2 separate regions of the Homo sapiens genome follow, and region 2 is linked to region 1. The links are contacts of gene promoters, found by promoter capture Hi-C in human tissues and cell types (Jung and others, 2019). All regions are on one chromosome and are shown on one strand. The core of a region is centred on a gene start or on the middle of the fragment in contact, and the rest is flanking DNA. Distances in the headings are between cores, read along the strand shown. Region 1 holds the start of ULK2 (unc-51 like autophagy activating kinase 2). Region 2 overlaps SPECC1 (sperm antigen with calponin homology and coiled-coil domains 1).

Evidence for each region. Contacts are between HindIII fragments. The study calls those that stand out against the background at their distance.
Region 2: a contact is called between a fragment that was not itself captured here and the fragment with the promoter of ULK2 in region 1, in 1 of the 25 tissues and cell types used here (dorsolateral prefrontal cortex).

The regions. Positions count from the first base shown.
Region 1 is chr17:19,866,352-19,869,242 of GRCh38, forward strand. ULK2 (unc-51 like autophagy activating kinase 2) reads right to left here and starts at 1,585. Exons shown (of 27, transcript NM_014683.4): 1 at 977-1,585. The coding sequence starts at 1,066. RefSeq lists an enhancer at 702-1,210 and silencers at 789-968, 1,049-1,638. The HindIII fragment of the contact is 32,590 bases long and covers 1-2,891 here.
Region 2 is chr17:20,249,651-20,252,817 of GRCh38, forward strand. All of the region lies in intron 9 of SPECC1 (sperm antigen with calponin homology and coiled-coil domains 1), which reads left to right. Among named protein-coding and RNA genes, the nearest start is that of FAM106B, 170 kb to the right of the region's middle. The HindIII fragment of the contact is 6,970 bases long and covers 1-3,167 here.

The DNA.
Region 1 (2,891 bases), core at 335-2,834:
AAAAAAATTAGGCGGGCGTGGTGGCGGGCACCTGTAATCCCAGCTACTCAGGAGGCTGAGGCAGGAGAATCGCTTGAGCCCGGGAGGCAGCGGTTGCAGTGAGCGGAGATCTCGCCACGGCACTCCAGCCTCGGCGACAAAGCGAGACTCTGTCTCAAAAATAAATAAATAAATAAATAAGAAAAGTAGCATTACTTCATCCGATAAGCAACAAAGTCAGCCCACTTTTAACACGCCCCTTGGGCAACAATCAGAACTGCCACACCCTTTAAGATTATTTCCACTCCCGATATGCCTTTCCAAATTCTTTAGATTCTAAAACCTCGTGTAACTGTACTTGCGAAACAGCAAAGGCTTAAAACAATTTTTTTAAGGCTTAAAGGTGATTTCATGTTCAAGGTGATTGAAAATGAATTGTCCAACCACCTTTCTCACCCGGAGCTCGTCTATCTGACTCCGGGGGGGAAAACGGTACGGGGGCTCTTCGGGGTGCAGGGGACCAGTGCTGGGAAAGGTGACACCTCCCAGGCTGCGAAAGCCTGAGGCTAATGGGACATCCGCCCATTTTCCGCTGGGTCTGTAATTATCAACCTCAAAAGTGACCAGCCCTGGGCACGGGGAAAAAAACCAAAGGTCCATTCACGCCCAACCCTCGAGTCTGCACGGTGCAGTACCGTCTATTTTGGGTCCAGGGTAACCTGGGTGCAAACGCTCCTGCGGGCGGACCGCGGGGTGGGCCCCGGGCACACAGGAGGATCAGCAGCAGCCGGTCGGTAGGCGGAGCGCTGCCAGAGGCTTGGGCCTCACAACAACCCTCACAGGACCAAAACAAACGGCGAGACGGGCTGCGCGCACAATAGCATACCCGGGCGGCTAGCCGAGTCGGGGGTCTCGGCTCGCGGCTGCGCCAAGTTTCAGAACCACCTAGCCCCGTGCCTGCCGCCCGGGGCCCGGCCTCGCCCCGGCCGGCGCTCACCTGGCGGTGCCGCCCCCGGAAGACCACGGCGAAGGCCCCGTGTCCCACGAGATCCCTCTTGCTGTACTCGAAGTCACCCACCACCTCCATGGCCGCGCCCCCGGGGCACACAGCGGACGGGCGGGCGGCGCAGTGCGGCGCAGGTATCAGCACCGCGGCTCCGCGGGCCCGGAGCGCGCCAGCGTGCGGCGGGTCTGGGGCAGCCGCAGCCCCGGGCCCGGGCGGACTCTCATGCCGAGAGACCGGAGCGGAAACTGGGGAAGCTGCCGCGCGGAGCCAGGGTCAGCGAGGCCCGGCCCGGCCCCTGCCGCTCATGGCCCGGCCTGCCGCCGGCCGCTGGCTGTCTGGCGAAGCGGCCTCGGCGCTGCCGGGCCAGGGGTGCCGTCACCGTCACTGTGCGCGCCCAGAGCCGCACACGCGCTCTGAGGCAGTGAGGGGCCCGGTACTCTCCATCCCCAGCTCGTCGGGCCTCCTCGGCCCTCCCCGCTCGGGGCGCTGCTGCGACGGCGACGGCCGCCGCCCTAGAACCCGCACCGCCGCGGCCCCGCGCTTCCCCGCCTCGCGGCGGCGCCCAACGCCCTCGCGCGCGCTACCCGCTCCCGCGCGACTGGCTGCCCTCCGCGACGTCCGCGCGCCTTGAAGGCCGCAGCGCCAGCCGGCTCCCTCCGCCGGGGAAAGGAGTGCGGCCAGGGCTTGGCGCCCGCAGCTGGGCAGATCCTCGGCCGCTCCTGAGGCGGGGACGAAGGGCGCGACCCGCTGCGGCCACAGCGGGTTACGGGCTGCGGGCTCCGTTCTGGGCCTGGGGAGCAGATTCGAGCCGACCACGCCCCGGGCTCCAGGCCGCTGGGAGGCGGACTTCAGAGAAGCGGGTCTTGAACCCCAGCTGCAGGCAGGACGGGATTATCTGCGCAGGGTAGACCCCCAGATTCCTGCCAGAGCAAAGGAGCAACTGCTACTCCAGGCTTTGCCCGCGCTCTGGAAAACCAGAGTTCACGCTGCCAAACTGCCAGCCTTCGGACGCCTCTCGGGGTTTACTCGCTTAGGATCCCTAGAGGGACGGTGACAGGCGGGATTCTGCACCTTTTGGGGGTCCCTTGACTGCGAGAAGCTGGTGACAGCTCAGGGCCCTCTTCGCAGAGAATCGTTTCTGCACACCGACTCAGAATCGCACACGTTTTCAAGGTTCTCCTGGGAGCTCCTAGTGTCAGGCTAGTTTGACCTCGGGCTTACTTCACATGGCCGAAGGGAGCTTTCTTTTCTACCTGATTGTTAAAGCTGTCCAAGTGACAAGGAACAGATTGTCAGGTTTCCCGCAAAGAAGTGTCTTATGAAACCATTTAATAAACAATATGCTTGAAACTACCATGGAATACGCAGGCTCCACACTTGAGTGTGTGTTCGGTTGTATAGGGTATGTGCTTTTGGGGTCTGTCACCACCTCGACTGCCACTGCCTGTCCCTGCAAGCTGATCTCTGAACCATGACAGAGTCAGCTCCAGGATTCTGAGAGAACGCTCCTTCCTCACACGCTCAAAACGTAGGGCCTTGAGTTTCTGCTTCTGCTACTGTGCACGCTTACGTTATCCTGTCCTTACTTACATCTGGCCCAGGTGGTTGTGTTAGACACTGAAAATCTGGAGCCTTCAAAAGTTGACAGCAACTTAAGCAAGTTTGCACATACACCCAAAAATGGATGGAGATGATTCCTTACCTCACTGAAAGATTCTCTACAGTCTATTTTTTTGTTTACTTTTTTTTTTTTTTTTTTTTTTGAGACAGAATCTTACTCTGTCACCCAGGCTGGAGTGCGGTAGCACAATCTTGGTTCACTGCAACCTCTGCCTCCCAAGTGCAAGTGATTCTGCTGCCTGAGCCTCCCAAGCAGCTAGAATTACAGGCACGCACCACCACGCCC
Region 2 (3,167 bases), core at 483-2,982, 380 kb after region 1:
TGACTTAAAAATAAAATACCTGAATTAAAGACTCAATAAAGTTTAGCTGTAGCTTAAACAGTTTAAGAGAGGCTTAAAGAACTGAAGACAAGTCAGTATAAATATCTGAACTGAAGCACAGAGAAAAAGGATAGGAAATAGAGAAAAGGACATAAGAAACATATGGGATGGAATAAAAAAATCTCATGTGTAATTGGAGTCCCCAAAAGGGGAGAAAAAGAGCAGAAGTGATATTGGAAGGGATAATGATCAAGAATTTCCAAAACTGATAAAAGATGTCAAGCCCAGATTCAAGAAACAATAAGAACCCCAAGTGAGATAAGTACAAAGAAAACCACCCAGACACATGAGGTTAAAACTGCTGGAAATGAAAGAGAAAGCATCCTAAAAGCACCCAAAAGAAAAAAGATACCTCAATGTCCAAGGAGGAAGAGCAAAACTGACATCTTTCTTCTCAAGAAGAATGATGGAAGCCCTGAAGACAATGCAGTGGCATCTGCAAAATGCTGAAAGAAAACACCTGCTTTCCTTTACCTCATGAAAATATGCTTCAAAGTGCTGTACCTGGTGAAAATACCCTTCAAAGGTGAACACAAAAGAAAGATGCTTTGAGTCCAACAAAACCAGATGTTTTTTCCTAGGATACTTGCAGTGAAAAGACTATTTAAAGGAGTTCTGCATGGAGTTTGTTCTTTTAAAAGACTATTAAAATTCAAAACATCTGACAAGAAAAGCTAATGCAAAATTACCTGTATCAGGAATTTGTAAATGGGTACATCACTAAAGATTTCATAATTATTAAAGCAATAGTAAGAGAATATTATATATTACTACTTTGTGCTATAAATTAGAAAATATTGATGAAATGGTCAAAATCTTAGAAAAATGTAACGTGCTAAACTTACATAGGAGAGAGTAGTAGAAAATCTCAATCACCTATAATTTATATCTTTTCCTTAAAAGAAATGCCAGGGCCTTATGGCTTCACCATGAAACCTCCCAAACATTTAAGGAAGAAATAATGTCAATCTTACGTAAATTCAGAGACTAGGAAAGAGGTCAGCATAGCTTTGATCCCTAATAGTTGCAAGAACATTAATAGACAAGAAAATTAAAAGGTCTTTCTCACGAACCTCTTTGCAAAAATCCTGAACAAAATCTTGGAAAACCTTATTCAGAGACACATGAAAAAGATCATGTCATGTTGGGTTTATTCCAGGAATGGAAGGTGGTTAATATTGAAGCCAACCAGAGTAATTCACCACATTAACAAAGGTATAAAAAGAATATGGTTGGCCAGGTACAATGGCTTATGCCTGTAATCCCAGCACTTTGGGAGGCCAAGGTAGGTGGATCACTGGAGGCCAGGAGTTCAAGACCACTCTGGTCACCATGGCGAAACCCCATCTCTACTAAAAATACAAAAATTAGCTGGGCGTGGTGGTGCACGCCTGTAACCCCCAGCTACTTGGGAGGCTGAGGCACAAGAATGGCTTAAATCCAGGAGGCGGAGGTTGCAGTCACCTGAGATCATTGCCATTCCACTCCTGGGCGACAGAGTAAGACTCTATCTCAAAAAAAAAAAAAAAAAGCATATGGTCATCTTAGTAGGTGGTGGCAGGAAAATGTAGTCGATAAAGATTAATATCTTTCTTGATGGAAATTCTTAGAAAAGTAGGAATAGAAGGGAAAGTCTTTAATCTGATAAAGGGTCTGTATTATATATCTACAGCAAACATCATACTTAATGGTGAAATATCGGATGCTTTCCCACAGGATTGTGAATGGGATAGGAATGCCCCATATTGTCACTTTTGTTCAGCCAACTTCAAAAGCAAGATTTAAAACTACTTTTGAAAACTGTATACCACGACCATTATATTTTTGTGGGATGTGGATACATGGAATTGTGTTTAATATGCTATGAAGTAGAGCCTCTAAGAGAAAATAATGTTCTGGAAAGCCTCAGAATGGCCCTGCACAGGCAAATGTACCAGGTTGTTCATTGCAGCATTGTTCCTAATATCAATATCAACATGAATATCAATAGAGAATCAGTAAAATAAATTATGGTAATGAAAATAGCTAAGATCTACTGAATGCTTACTATCTGCTGGGCTGTGTTTTGATTGTTCTAACTGGATTTAACTCATTTAATCCTCCCATAACCCTTTGAGGTAAGTACGTTTAGTATCGTTGCCATTTTATAAATAAAGAAAATAAGGCACAGAAAATTAAGTAACCCAGAGTCTCACAGGTGGGTGGTGCCATCTGTCCCCAGAGCCACTTACTTGGCCTCTTGTGGCACTTCTCAGAGGAAGCTGCCAAGATGGTGGGTGATGGTGGGTATAGAATGACTTCTAAGATACAGTAAGTGAAAGAAGCAAAATGGTGTACAAAACAATATAATGCTATGATAACAGTTGTGTTTTTAGAAAAACAGAGGGTGTTTTTCAAGGTTTTTCCTTGAATAATATCATGCTTACTTGCATTCTGAAATGCTTTTTTAAATGGCAGTAAAAAAAATACACCATGAAATCTACTCTATTAACAAATTTTTAAGTATTGTTAACTAGAAGCACAATATTGTATGGCAGGTCTCTAGAAAAATTTTTTTTTAAATTTTTAATTTTATTTCAGATTCAGGGTGTACATGTACAGATTTGTTACATGGATATATTGTGGGATGCTGAGGTTTGGGGTATGATTGATCCCATCACCCAAGTAGTGAGCATAGTACCCAACAGGTTTTCAGTGCTTGCCTCCCCCTCCTCTAGCACTCCCCAGTGTCTCTTGTTGCCATCTTTCTGTCCTCTAGAACTTTGTTATCTTGCCTGACTGAAACTCTGTATCCACGGAACAATTCCCCACTTCCCCTCCCTGAGGCCTCTGGGAGCCACCACTCCACTGTCTGCTTCTGTGATTTTGACTACTTTAGATTCCTCACGTACATAGAGTTATGCCGCTCTTGTCCTTCAGTGACTGGTGTATTTGACTTAGCATAATGTCTCCAAAACTCATTTATGTTGTAGCATGGGACAGGATTTCCTTCTTTTTTAAGGCTGAATAATATTCCATTGTATATTCTATACCACATTTTCTTCGTCCATTCATCTGGTGGTGGACACTGGGGTTGCTTCCACGTCTTGGCTGTTGTGAATTATGCT